Regions from separate parts of the Homo sapiens genome. Here region 1 is linked to region 2. Evidence: promoter capture Hi-C in human tissues and cell types (Jung and others, 2019). All regions are on one chromosome and are shown on one strand. The core of a region is centred on a gene start or on the middle of the fragment in contact, and the rest is flanking DNA. Distances in the headings are between cores, read along the strand shown.

Region 1 (6,964 bases), core at 882-3,381, 35 kb after region 2:
GAGTGGCTGGGATTGACTACAGGCATGCACCACCACGCCCAACTAATTTTTTGTAGAGGCAGGGTCTCACTTATTGTCCAGGCTGGTCTTGAACTCCTGGCCTCAAGCGATCCTCCTGCCTGGGCTTCCCAAAGTGCTGGGTTACAGGCGTGAGCCACCGCTTTGCTTTGCTTTGCTTTGCTTTGCTTTTTCTTTTTCTTTTTCCTTTTCTTTTCTTTTCTTTTTTTTGAAACAGTGTCTTGCTCTGTTGCCTAGGCTGGAGTACAGTGGTGCAATCTTGGCTCGCTGCAACCTCCGCTTCCCGGTTGAAGAGATTCTCCTGCCTCAACCTCCCCAGTAGCTGGGATTATAGGCACGCACCACCATGCCCAGCTAGTTTTTTGTATTTTTAGTAGAGATGGGGCTTCACCATGTTGGCCAGGCTGGTCTTTAATTCCTGATCTCAAGTGATCTTCCCACCTCGGCCTCCCAAAGTGCTGGGATTATAGGTGTGAGCCACCACACCCAGCCACCACCATTTCTTAATTTAAAATTAGGAAAATTAATAAATCTCTGGCTGGATATGGTGGCTGTACTAAAAATACAAAAATTAGCCAGGTGTGGTGGTACACGCCTATAATCCCAGCTACTTGGGAGGCTGATGCACAAGAATGGCTTGAATCTGGGAGGTGGAGGTTGCAGTGAGCCAGAATCGTGCTACTGTACTCCAGCCTGGATGACAGAGCGAGACTGTCGCAAAAACAAAAACAAAAAAAAATTAAGAATTTTTTTTTTTTTTTTGAGATGGAGTCTTGCTCTGTAGCCCAGGCTGGAGTGCAGTGGCACGATCTCGGCTCACTTCAAGCTCCGCCTCCCCGGTTCACGCTATTCTCCTGCCTCAGCCTCCCGAGTAGCTGGGACTACAGGTGCCCGCCACCACGCCCGGCTAATTTTTTGTATTTTTAGTAGAGACAGGGTTTCACCGTGTTAGCCAGGATGGTCTCCATCTCCTGACCTTGTGATCCACCCACCTCGGCCTCCCAAAGTGCTGGGATTACAGGTGTGCGCCACCGTGCCCGGCCAAGAAGTTTCTTAAGTTTTTTAAGAAGCTTCTTAATTTTTATAACTTTTTACTGCAGCAGTATTTTTTATTGTAGTAAAATATAAACAAAACTCACCATTGTAACCATTTTTAAGTACATTTCTGTGGCATCAAGTACATTTAATTGCTGTGCAACCATCACCACCATCCCACTCCAGAATGTTTTCATCTTCCCAAAGTGAAATTCTATACCCATTAAACAATAACTCCCCTTTCCCCTTTCTCCTCAGCTCCTTCACTTACCATTCTTTCTGTCTCTATCAATTTGACTACTTTAGGAGCCTCATATAAGTGGACTCATACAATATTTGTCCTTTTATTACTGGCTTATTTCACTTAGCATAATGTCTTCAAGGTTTATCCATGTAGCATGTATTAGAATTTTCTTCCTTTTTAGGGCTGAATCAGTAATCATATTTAATTTTTTTTTGAGACAGGGTCTTGCTCTGTTGCCCAGGCTGGAGTGCAGTGGCACGATCTCGGCTCACTGCAACCTCCACCCCCTGGGTTCAAGGGATCCTCCCACCTCAGCCTTCCAAGTAGCTGAGATTACAGGCATGTGCCACAATGCCCAGTTAATTTATTTAATTTTATTTTTTGTAGAGATAGAGTCTTAATATGTTGCCCAGGTCAGTATTGAACTCCTGGCCTCAAGCCATCCTCCCACCTCAGCCTCCCAAATTGTTGGTATTACAGGCGTGAGCTACTGTGCCTGGCAGTATTCATGTTTTAAATTTGCAAGCATTCTTTCTTGCTCTTTGAGTATGTCTGTTTTGCAAAGCATCATGTTCTTGTTTTATGGTCTCATATTTCTGTTTGTCTCAGAGTCAGTATTTGTGCACCATGGACTTTTTCCTGGGCTCCCCTCCCATACCTGGTGGTCCTTGGCTACTTTGGAGGCCAACCTATGTGGGTAGGGTTTGGGGGGGATGTGCAGACTGCTGGCATCATGTTGAGTCTTACCTGAACCCAGGATGCAGAAGGCTTTACTGTTGGGTCCAATAATATTGGCTGCCCTAGGTCATTGTACATAGTTTGTTTAGTGTCTTTGAGAAAAGCTCTTCTATTTATTGGCCCAGGGCAGCAGCCTAACTGCCTAGTGTTCTACCAATGCAGATTAGGATGGGGTGGAGCCAAGCTCACAATTTCATCAGTGTTCCAGTTTTCAGGCCTGTTTAATGCTTTTGCAAGGCCCTCCCTTTCCTTCATGGACCCCCTCCTTGTGGGTTCTGGCTGCTGTGTCAGTCTCTTGTCCCCTGGCCATGCTTTGTCTCCCAGAATTTTTTGGAAATCTCTGGGGGCTGATGGTGGTTGCCCCTTCTACTTGTTGCAGTAGGATTACCCTTCATACCTGTCATTTTAGGGAGGCATCAGCATGTAGCCACCACCCCCAACTACAGAGTCAATGTTAGGAAGATCTCTCTCATGGGCCCCAAGGGCCCCTGAACTCCAGGCTAGAGACAGCCAGGGAGACCTTTCCTTAGGGTAGGGTAAGGCCGCCAGGAGCCATGAGTTCATGGAGGAGATGTTGACTAATCCCATGCCACGCAGGCAATGGGCTGCTCAAGGCCTTAGCTCTGTTCTGGAAAGGGGAGCTTTGAGTGTCTTGCCTGGCTCCCTGAGGCCTCTGGCATGAAGCCCTGTAACTTGACCATGGGTGGGTGTCCCAAGGGTGATAGTGTCACTCAGGAGGGCCTCAAGCCAGCCTCAACCAGTGAGGGAAGGACTACTAAGCCCTAGGTTCTTTCTCCTTGTAGGACAAACAGAAAGTGGGAAGGAAAGAAAGTGGACCCCTGGCAGAAAGGGAAATAGGCTTCAAGCTCATGAAGGAAGAAGAATATAGAAACAGTCTAAGACAAGGCCGGGCGCGGTGGCTCATGCCTGTAATACCAGCACTTTGGGAGGCCGAGGTGGGCAGATCACGAGGTCAGGAGAGCGAGACCATCCTGGCTAACACGGTGTAACCCCATCTCTACTAAAAATACAAAAAATTAGCTGGGCGTGGTGGCGGGCGCCTGTAGCCCCAGCTACTCAGGAGGCTGAGGCAGGAGAATGGCTTGAACCCGGAAGGCGGAGCTTGCAGTGAGCCGAGATCGCACCACTGCACTCCAGCCTGGGTGACAGAGCAAGATTCCGTCTCAAAAAAAAAAAAAAGAAACAGTCTAAGAGAGGAAGAAATGTGTCCATATGATCCAGATGTGGATATGGGGAGTGAGGGAGGCACCGTGAGAACCTCCTGAGTCTTGAGTTTAGTGTTGTGGATGACCAGGAGGTGCAAGTGAATAAGCCTGGCTTGCCTTGAGCTTGGGCACCACTAGGCAACGCCTTAGGGGATGGCTGGGAGTAGAAAGTCCTGCCTTGAGCCACCTGGAGGGTAAAATTTACAGGACCCAGCGAGATCCTGCCTTCCTCTTGAGTTTACCTTTCCTAACCTGAGCCTCAACTTGCTGGGGTTGGTAAATGGTGGCAGAATATGGATACTGCAAAAAAGTTGGCATGAGTGGTCCTGGCTGCTGTGGTTCCCAGAGGAGGAAGCAAAGCAGCCAGCCTAGAGTTGGTTTGAGGTGGGTTTGTGCAGTCTTCATTTTAACTTGCAGGCGGGGACAGAGGTAGAGCTTCTAGGGTCCTGGACAGGGAAAGGAAGAAATAGTCCAGGCTGCCTGGATTGCTTAGCCACCCAAATCAATGCAGGTAGGCTTCCTCCCTCTGATGTGTACACCCCAGTGGAAGTGGGATTGTGGTGCAGCTCTGAAAAGTTCCTGAGGAAGGAAAGAGAGAAGGCATCTTTGGAGCTACCCTTGCCATTCCCCAGGGTTCTCCTTGTATGACAGGAGGTGGGGAGCCCTGCCAGGTCTGGGTGGGCTGGAAGAATCCTGTCGGCTGTAGTTTTAATAGAATAAAACTTCACTCCCCACCCCCCACCCCCCCCCCCCCCCCGTGTTATAAAAGTAAAAACACACTCATTGAGAATTTGGAAAATAGGGAGTTATCATAGAGGTACTTATGGTTGACATGTGGAATATTTCCTTCTCCTTTTTCTGCATGTGGGAGTGGTGGGGGGGTGCCAAATCATGTAATTGCACTATACATGGAGTTTTGTGTGCTTTTTAAATTAAATTAAATTTAAACTTTTTTTTTTTTTTTTCCTGAGACGGAGTCTTGCTCTGTCGCCCAGGCTGGAGTGCAGTGGCGCGATCTCGGCTCACCGCAAGCTCTGCCTCCCGAGTTCAAGCAATTCTCCTGCCTCAGCCTCCCGAGTAGCTGGGACTACAGACACAAGCCACCACACCCAGCTAATTTTTGTATTTTTAGTAGGATGGGGTTTCACCATGTTAGCCCGGGTGGTCTTGATCTCTTGACCGCTTGATCCACCCGCCTTGGCCTCCCAAAGTGCTGGGATTACAGGCGTGAGCCACTGTGCCTGGCCGAGAGTAGGGCTCTCTTGAGGGGTGGCCTTGAGTCAGGAGTGGGCTCCAGGTCCCTGGAGCTGAGTTATCTCTGATGCTTCAGGAGCTGTTGTCCTGGGTTACCACTGTGGCCCCAAGTAACCAGGTCATCTCTGCCTTCAGCCCAGCCCCTGTGGAGGTGAATCTGAAGCTCCGCCGGCCATCCTTCCGTGATGATATTGATCTCAATGCTACCTTTGATGTGGATACTCCCCCAGCCCGGCCCTCCAGCTCCCAGCATGGTTACTACGAAAAACTTTGCCTAGAGAAGTCACAGTGAGTGATAGTCGCTGGCACTGTCCATGGGCTGGTAGGGGGATAGCTAAGACAGCTCTGCAGGCCCTGTGCTGTTAGCTCTGAGTGGCTGATGGGGCAGTGAGGGTTGCCTAGGCTTGGCCATGGCTTTGGTTCCAGCTACCTCTTGTTCCCTCACCTGAGCACTCAATCTGTGCAAACCCCTTCTCTTTTCTCATTATTCCTCACCATCACCTTTCAAGGCAAACGTATTGGAATGCAAGTTAGAGAGAATGCAGTGATGCCAGAAGGGGTGGGTCTGGGCTGGAGAGGGTGCTCCCAATACCTTGAAGGCCTGCCCACCAGAGTCCTGAGCGAGGGACTCTGAACTTCCTCTTCTATGTTTGCCTCTGAGGCTCATGCCTGAGGGAGGATCATCTCAAACCACAGAGCCCAAGGCCTTACCACCCAAGGGGGTGACCCACAGGGGCAAGCATGAGAAGCTGTCTGGAATTCCAGTGGGGCAGGTGGAACCTGCTCTGGGGTACGGTGGGACCAGAAAAAGGGAGGCTGTCTCCTTGGCCAGCTTTGCCAAGTGTAATTCACTGTGGAGACAAGGACTATACTCATTCATACAGGTACTGTTCAGGTGAGGCTGGTCAAGGGCTGGGCAGGTTTCCTCTTTTTCAAAGACTTTGTACAGAGAGAAAGAAGAGAAAGAGAAAGAAACTGAGATGCTAGACAGTGGAGGTGGAAGGGAGCAAGAGGGCAAGCCAGCTGGGCTGTCCTACCTCCCAAACCTCAGGGGGCATGGGCACCCCTGTTGTAGAGGGCGAGGCCTGGTAGCAATGAGAAACAAACCTAGGACCCGTGGGCTGTAGTCCTCAGGGATCCTGTCAGTGTCTGCTGTGTACTCTGGCTTCCTCCCATTGCCCTTCTTCCGCTGTAAAGGTTGAAGGTGGACACCTGGGGTCTTCAGGCTGCCAGGCCTTTCAGAGACATTTCCACCACCTTCATGGCCTGTGGAGGTAGTGAAGGAGGTAGTGAAGTTCTGAGTCCCTAACTCAGCTCGTCCTTCCTGGAGCCTTGGTTGTCATGTAGCCTTACCACAGGCCGTTAGGGCAGGAGCAGAGGAGTCAGTCATCAGGCCCTGATCCCACTCTTGTCCTTATGGCTTGAGAAGCCACAGGGCCAGCCTTAGATCACCATCTTCTCACCCACCAGGGAAAATGCCAGGAGAGGGTATCCAGCTGCTGGGTTCCCCAGGAATTGGATGGAAATACAGTTTCTGGCTCTGGGGCTGGGATTGGGAGACCAGGGCCTGGGGCCATGCGCTATTCTGCCCCAGGCCCTTCTTAGACACACTCTCTAGGGAGATGGCTTGGCCCTGTGTTCTGAGAGGATTTTGTGGGCTACTTTACTGAAAGGCTAACTTACTGAGGCTCTCGTGGAGGTAGTGTCCCCTCTCTGGGAAGACAGGACTAGGCCTGAGCTCATTAAATTTCTTTTGCTCGTATCAGGGCATGACTGGCTTTCCTCCCGTGGGTGGTGAGTTGATTGGGCTCTTCAGCCCCATATAGAGCCTGGGACATGGTGAGGTGCCCGAGGACTTGAGGAGCGTTGGAATTTGGCCTTGAGTGGAAGCCACAGGATTGGGACATGGTCCAGTCATCCCCAGTCATCCCTGTCTCTGCCACCCTACTGGCTGTGGCTGTCCAGCTGTTAACAGACCTGCACTTGGGGTGGGATCACTGAGGTGCCTTGCCCAGAATGCAGGCATGGCAGCAGCAGTGCCACATGGTAACTCCCCAAGGGGCGTGTGCTGAGCCTGGTTCACCTGCCCCCATGTCTTGCTTACCTACCCCTTGCCTTCTCTCTCATTCTTGTAGCTCCCCAATTCAGGATGTCCCCAAGAAGATATGCAAAGGCCCCAGGAAGGTAAGAGCTTTCTAGAAGAAGCACAGTCTAACCTTTGGCAGGACTGGACTTTTGGGAGGGCACGGTCTTGCCAGAGCCTTGTCACTCCTGGTCCAGGACTGAGGTACTTCGGAGCCACCCTTGGGATTCTACTCATTATCCCTCCTGCCTCCTAGTGAGGCATCAGAGATCCTGATCTTGTTCCACCACCACTACCCTCCCTCCTTTGCTGACATCCAGCTCATCAAGTCTGGCCCTGGGGTCTTCCCTGCAGGAGTCCCAGCTC
Region 2 (7,571 bases), core at 833-3,332:
ACAGCCAATGATGTAGGGTCAGCACAGACCCTGCCCACTGCTGGACATGGTCCAGCCCCCTTCCCATGTCCAGCTCTCAAAGCCTGATTCAGCCTCCACAATCCTGAGACTTGTGTCAGGCAGGAAGGGGACTGATAACTCCAGGGACCAGCTACAGCGTCCACACACACGTGCCAGCAAGCATGCCTGGGTGCACAAAGAATGCAGACACACGTGCCCCTGGGCACCACTGCATACACTGTGCTGTTGCATCTCCCTCGGCAAAAGAGAGCATACACAACACGTACACGTGTGCACACACACCCTGCCACGTGCTCTCACCCACATGCACAGAGCGTGCTTAGGACCAAGAAGAGGTGGAGTACTGCCAGCAGCAGGCAGGGCGCTAAGGAGCCACCCCTTCCCCTGCCTAAAAATCCCCATTCCAGCTTCTCATTGACCCCCATGCCTGGATAGCCATGACCCTCAGGAAAGACAGAAAACATGTATGTGGCATGTGTGGGGTCAGCAAGCTACAGCTTGGCTACACCATAAAACTCAGAGACCCATTGTTTCAAGAATAGTGGGCAGATGGCAGGAAGGACTCAGTGCCAGGCCATTCATTCATTCTGCAGACATCAGCCGAGCATACTGAGATGAGAAACGGGTTCTGCCTTGCAGATACCCAGCCTGCCAGGAGATTCCTACCCAGTGGTGGGGTGGGTCCCATAACCCGAGACCACTCAGAGCCCAGGGACCCCAGAAGTGGCACCAGCCTGGCCTAGAGGAGGTAACACCAAGCCAGGGAGGAAGGTGAAGGGCTCAGTACCCCCTCTGGAGGAAAATTTTGAGGAACCTTGTTTGAGGCGGTCATTTCCTAAGCTAGCCTTCAGTCTGAGCCCCAGCCCCAGCTTCTGGACTTGGACAGTCCCTCCTGTCATCAGCCATGGGTGGCCAGGGCAGCCTCAAGATGGCTGAGGGTTTGGGGATGACCCCAACTCCCTCTCCCACAGCAGGGTCAGGAGGCTCACTGGGAGGAGTGAGGTGGGATAAAACCCAGCTCCAGACACTGAGAGGCCTGAGTCTGGTCTTCAGATACTGGCCTTAGGATGGTCCTCAGGGCTTGTGAGGGGTGTGGGTCAGGCTTTGGGTCCGTGAGCCTCACTGACAAGGGACAGAGAAATGGCCAAGGACTTCCTTTAAAGCTTCCTCCTGGTGGTTCTGAGCCTCCTCCCTCTGATTAGCACCCAGGCCAGGTGGGATACCTTGGTGCCACAGTTCTCCTGTGTCCCCATATCCCAGGCCAGGCCACTAGAGTGATACAACTCATGAAGTGTTTGACAGTGATTAGACTGAAAAGAAAGCAGAGGCCACACCATGTCACAGGTGACTTTTATAGTTTGGGAAATTTGGTGCCACACAGGAAGGGGCTGACTGTGCTGCCACCCTTGCTGGTACTTATGTTTGGGAAAGACTCTGGCCTTGCAGGAGTTGGGGATGGGGTGGGATAGGAGACTTTGCTACTACAGTCTAGGGCCCTCACTGTTTTCACACTGACTACCTGCAAACACACACCTCTGTGTGTTTACTGCTCCTAGCTAGGGGATGCGTAGCTAGGGGATGCTAGGGGATGCCACACTGACTACCTGCAAACACACACCTCTGTGTGTTTACTGCTCCTAGCTAGGGGAGCCTGCCCTAGCCCGACTGCCCATCTGGTTTTTCTAAGTTGGTCCTGCCTTTTGGGTCGGGTTCGGGGAGCTGGGCAAAGCCCCGTTCCCTAGAGACTAATGACTGGCAAGCGATCCTATGCAGCTCCAGGACTCAGGCTTTCCCCCAACTCTCCACTCACCACCCCTTACATTGGGCATAGGAGGCCTCCTCCGGCCCCAGGCTGAGGGCCTAAGGGAGCCATTGAGAACCTTGGCCAGGGCTAAGCAGGCCAGTGCTCACCAGCACCGCTGCCATCCCGCGCGCTCCTGCTCTCCAGTGGGATTCTGCCCTTAAGGCTCCGCCAGGGTCGGGGCGGGGCCGGTTGGGAGGCCCCGCCCCCAGCCCGCCCCCGGCCCGGGGTGCGAATCCGGTGCCGGCAAGCGGCTGGCGATGCTGGAGGTTCGCTAGCCGAAGCGGCTGCATCTGGCGCCGCGTCTGCCCCGCGTGCTCGGAGCGGATTCTGCCCGCCGTCCCCGGAGCCCTCGGCGCCCCGCTGAGCCCGCGATCACTTCCTCCCTGTGACCAACCGGCGCTGCAGGTGCGGGGCGGGCCGGGCTGGGGGCGCTTCCCGAACGCAGGTTGTGGGGCCTTGGGGGATTGTTTCCCTGGCTCGAGGTGCGGGATGCAGAGTGCGCGGGGGCGCAGCGAGGGCTCGAGGTCCTGGCGGGGTCAGAGCGCGCGGGCTTTGCAGATTTGGGGGAGGGAGTGCGGGGTCGGGCTAAAGTTCCCCATTACCTCGGACGGCTTGGGGGTTCTGGGGGGAAGCTTCTGCGGCTCGGAATTGTGAAAAGATTAACCCTCGAAGATTCGTGGTCCCCCGTGAGGATAGGGGCCGAGAGCTGAGCCGTCCCTCCCCGTTCCCAGAGCCGCCTCCAGCCCCTCCCAACTGTCCCCGGGCCCCTTCCCTCCCGCTTAGCAGTCACTAATTTCCATGACAACGGAGAGTTCTTTATGGGCGACAACCCGGAGGGGGCTGGGCGGGGCTGCCGCGGGGTGGGGGAGGAAGCTCCAAGCCCCTGGGGACCAGCAGCCCCCCAGCCAAAATTCAGCTTCCAAGCCTTCACCTGGGTGCCAGCTGGGGGTCCAGTGCATGGACCCACGTGCACGGTGGGGGTGGGGGCGCACATGTTCCTGCTGGGAGGTGCGGGGCTTGGTGCTCACACGTGTGCTTTCCGCATGTGTGTTGCTGTGCCAGCGGGGGCGAGCCAGCAGCACTTGGGAAAGGGGTCAGGGTGGCAGCACGGTGGGGAGCAGGGCCCCTGGCTGGAGGTGGCTGGGATAGTGACAGCATGAGCTTCTGCCTTCCCCAGCTTGTACTGTTTGGCAGAGACCCTGGGCTCTTGAGCCCCAGCCCCCTCCCCGCATAGCTCTGCCAAATTGCTTTTGTCCGCACCTCCCAGGCAGATCCTGCTCCACCAGGTTCCTTCCTAAGGATCAGGGCCCTCTGTCCCACACTAAAAGCTCAGAGTCTGCAGTAGTCCAGTCCCTGTGCTGTACTCCCCTTACCCCCAAGTCCAGGCTTTGAGCCCCCAGGACTACCTTTAGAGACCTGGTGCCCTCCCCCACCCTCAGAGTTGATTCCTGGCAGCTCCAGCGACTTCTGAGCCTCAGTTTCCTCAACTGGGGAACTGGTGTCTCCACTCAGAGTCAGGTTGGTTTCCAGGGTGGGGCAAGGGTCTCCCTTTTCTAATATTTGGTGTGGACCCTTCAGGTGCTCTCCTAGGCTGGCTGTTCACATATCTCTGATGGCCCTACTCTCCAGCCCCATGCCCTGGCCACCATTCACAGGCAGGCAAGCAGTCCTCTGCCCTGGGAGAAGGCCAGATTCCATGGTTTCCATTAGGGGAAACTGAGGCATGGGGAGGTGAAGGGCTGTGTGGTTATCCTGTTTCTGGGTTGCTTGTGGTGCCGTTTCTGGCACTCATGGCAGGATCTGCTGTTGGGGGTTGGTGAGAGGGGATTAAGCAGAGCTGTAAGAGGGGCTCTGGGGACCCAAAGCCTGGAAAGGATAGCAGATGGGGGAGGGGTTGGCTGGGAGGGTCTAAGTACAGCTGGGCCAACTGAGAAGAGGGACTATAAAGGGAAGCAGCCAGGCATCCGAGCCTCATTTCCATACCCCTATGCGTCTGCCTTCAACATGTTGGACCTGCTTTACCTAAGCTGCCGTGATGGCAGAGAGACGGGCTGGGAACTGTCCTGACTGGGGGGCTGCAGCAGCTGGCCTCTTCCCCACCAACATGCTCCAAGGAGCTGGCCTCCTTTTGGCTGTGCCTCCTACACCAAGTTCAGTGTATGTTTGGGGGATACAGGAGGGTGCAGTCTCGAAGGTCCCAGTACCATGGATAGCTCCTGGCCCAGGGATTTAGAGCACATCGCCATGGAGGCCTTAGGGCTCTGCTGGGCACCCATCCGCCCCCTTCAGAACTCCCGTCCACCTCCCCTTTCCTGCCCTTTGTGCCTGTGTCCCTTTTACTTTGTCATCTCCTTGCTCCTCTTCCATCACAGGTTCTGTCTTTGTCTGTGTCTCTGCCCCATTCTCTTTTTTCTAAATTCTCTCCATCTCCCCACCTCCCCTTTCTTGATGGGGACCTGGGTCACAGAACCTTGAAGAAGCAGCCAGGCTAAGGTCTCAGGAAATTCTTGAAGAAGGGACCTGACCAACACATCTCCCCTCCCCCTCCCCTTGTTTTAAAACTTCCATCACCATAGCAACCCTTTACTCTAGTGCCTTCCTCTGCATTTCCCCTCCTCCACCCACAGGGAAGCAGAGCCTCCAGTGGATTCTCCTTCAGGGGTTCAGAGATTTGGACCCCAAGTGCTTGGGAGGAGACAGCTGGCCTTTGGCTTTGCCTGCATGTTGACAGCTAAACTTTCGGGATGTAGCACTGGACTGCATGCCCACCCCCAAAACTGGAGAGACCTCCCCACAATACTCCCTCATTAGATGGGCAAAATTCAGCTGTAGGAACTTCTACCATGATTTAGCTCGAGCCGGAGGCTCAGTCAGGGCAGCCCCTTGACCGGTCCCCTGAAGCAATTGGATGGTGGTCTAGAAGCTTGGCCCTTGTTCTTAACAGACCTTGAGGGAGGTCTTCAGCTCCCCTGGTCCTGTGGGTGACACCTCAGCTGTGAGTTAAGCAGGGCTTGGGCTTCAGCATGTTCATTGCAGCAGGAAACCCAGCCCCAGCCCTTGAGAGAGTAGAGCAGCAGAGAGGAGGGGGTGCCTGCAGGCTGGTGTTCACAGCTGCCACTAAATTAGGAGGTGTTGCCTACAGTTGTTGGGAGGCAGCTGGAGGCCTCTTGGGCCCCTCCTGGCCTCCCTAGATTTACTGCAAGCTCTGGAGCCCCACGTGGCAGGGGACCAAGGTAGCAGGAAACTCTGTTTATGTCTATGAAAGGTAGGGCCTGAACCAGGATGATCTCAGCGGAGGAGGGGACAGGACCCCAATGTGGGGCCTCCGGACCTCTTGGCCTTTGTCCCGTTTGGGCTTTCCCTGGGCCAGACTTACCTAAAGATGCAGCAGAGTCCCTGGGGGACCATTTATCACCAGGGCACCAACAGAGGACCCCTCAGGATTGCTGGAGGCTCAATTCCCTGAGTCCAGTGGTCAGGCCCTGGGAGCAGGCCATAACTGGGGAGTGCTTGGCTCTCAGGCTCCATGAGAGCCAGCTGGAGGGCAATGGCCGCACCAGGGCCTGCACTCCCCACAAGCTCCCTCTGGGCAGCCGGTAGTGCATACTGTTCAGTTCCTCTGCAGAGAGTGGAGGGAGCCATGTCTCCAGGGAAATGGCTGTTGTGGAGCTCCCATGCCCTTCCATGGCCTAAGTGTACCTGAGGAAGAGCTCAGATCCTGTGTTGCTGAGAGGAGAGCTCTCCATTGTTGGGTGTTGGGTCTGGGCCATGGGGGTGAAAAATACAAACCCCTTCCACTTGGCCTCCTCTCTTTCTGAGAGCTGTCCCTTGGCTGTTCCTCCCAGGTCTCCTTTGTTGCAAGCAGGTGCCCAGGGCTTGGTGCACACACCCGAAACCTCCCAGGGAGCAACAGTGGATAGCAGATGGTGGAGTGGGTGTGGGCAGAGGGAACCAAGGTGCTAATTGAAAGCCAGGCCCCTCTTTCTCCTCTCTTTGCCCTGGGGCCAAGTCCAGGGCCCCAAGCCAGTATACTTAGACTGGTGAGGAGGAGGAGGAGGAGGAGTGACTGGCTGAAATTTGGGCAGCCATAGTAGGGGGCAGGGGAGACAGATCTGTTCCCATCTCAGCCTTGAGGCTTCAGGACATGGCTCCAGGCTGACATTACGGGGTGGAGGCCCAGTTTTCTGTGCCTTTCATGGGACAGACCCCCATGACCAGCCCTGGACCTCAGTGGGCACGAATGCATATGCAGAGCCGAAAGCTGGGGCCAGGATCAAGGACAGGCATGCACAAAACCTCCCACCCACGCCACACTGGCAAAGCTGGGAGCTGTTGGAGTGGGGTGGGGGGTGGGGCATGGAGGTTGTGGAAGGTATCTCAGAAAAGGGCCATTTTGAGTCTGGCCTTCGAGCATCAGGATTGTTTTGGACAATGTGTTGCACAAACCACCTTATAATGTCAGAAATCACAATGAAAGAAGAGATTCAGTTCTGCTCTCAGCACCTCGCTCATGTGGCAGCTGCTCCACAGGAAAGCCAAGGTGGGCAGAGCTCTTGCCAGTGCCCACACTTCCTACCATTGAGTGGACACAGTTGAGCTGGCGAGTCACCTGTTGTTGGACATTTAGGTAGTTGCTGAATTTTTTTTAATGTTATAAATAACTCTGCCGTGACAAATAGGAATCTGACGGGAGGCTTTTGGGGGAAGGGCACTCTTGCCAGAGGGAATGGTGTAAGCAAAGCAACAGAGCCAGGGCACAGGTCCCTCCCAGCCTTCTTGGGAGACTGCAGGCTAAGGTACCATCCTCCTGCCCAGTACACGGCCCTCAGACTGAGATGACTGTTGCAGGCCCCCTCCTGCAGCTGTTATGGTGTGAAAATGTGTAGCCGGCAATGGTAACTGGCTATGCCTCTGCTCTCAGCTGTGAGGATGGGATTCTGGCCACATGCTTCTCCCCAGTGGAGGAGTGCAGGGTTGTGCCCATGGTGGCAGACATGCAGTCAGTGACGATCTTCAAAGCCTCTCCTTTGTCTCTGCTGTGCCTCGCAAGATGGCTTAAACCCTGTCTGGAATAATGCTGATGAAATGCATTTGTATTCCCTGAGCCCAAGCAACCCAGATGAAGGAATGATAGAGTTTGTTCCCTAATGCTGAAGGCAAATCTGAGGGAGAATTTCCAGGGCTGTGACTCCTGGGAATCACAGCCTGGTGGCTGGCTTCTGCCTGGGAGGAAGCAAGTAGCAGCCAGGGTTGGCTATGGGGCTCGTTTGGGTCCTGGTCTTTGACTTTGGCTGGCAGAGTTCATCTTGCCAAGCTGCCTCCTTTGCCTCCTCCCTTCTCCACTACCTTGAGGCTGTGAGTGCCTTCAGGTCGGGGAGCATCTAGGTACCCCCAGGCCCTAGCTCAGGCCCTGCACACAGCAAGTGCTAATTGGCATGGAGGGAAAACATGCACAGTCAGCAGAGGCAGAGCAATTTCAGCGCAGCCTCAGTGCAGAGCTTGCTGTAGCCCCAGTGTCACACTGACCGGGTATTATGGAGGCACACCCTGGCGTCAGATCTGTGAAGGTCTAGTCAGTAACCCCCCACCCCCAGCTTTGAGCATGGGCTATGAGTGCCTTTTCCTTTGGACACTGGAGTCAGCCCCCCTAGCACTACAGATGAGGATTGGGCTGTAATTGGCAGGATTGCAGACCTGTGGGACACCGTGCCCCAGGTGGAAAGAGTGCCTAGCGCTCACTGAGCCA

The links. The method cuts DNA at HindIII sites, captures the fragments that hold promoters and counts their contacts. A contact is called where the count stands out against the background at its distance.
Region 1: a contact is called between a fragment that was not itself captured here and the fragment with the promoter of CAMKV in region 2, in 1 of the 25 tissues and cell types used here (bladder).

Annotation. Positions count from the first base shown.
Region 1 is chr3:49,829,755-49,836,718 of GRCh38, reverse strand. TRAIP (TRAF interacting protein) reads left to right here. Exons shown (of 15, transcript NM_005879.3): 11 at 4,651-4,803; 12 at 6,651-6,699; 13 at 6,953-6,964. Among named protein-coding and RNA genes, the nearest start is that of UBA7, 19 kb to the right of the region's middle. The HindIII fragment of the contact is 4,817 bases long and covers 1-4,539 here.
Region 2 is chr3:49,864,417-49,871,987 of GRCh38, reverse strand. It overlaps CAMKV (CaM kinase like vesicle associated), which reads left to right and starts at 2,082. Exons shown (of 11, transcript NM_024046.5): 1 at 2,082-2,230. RefSeq lists enhancers at 2,398-3,329, 3,330-4,262. The HindIII fragment of the contact is 8,966 bases long and covers 1-3,603 here.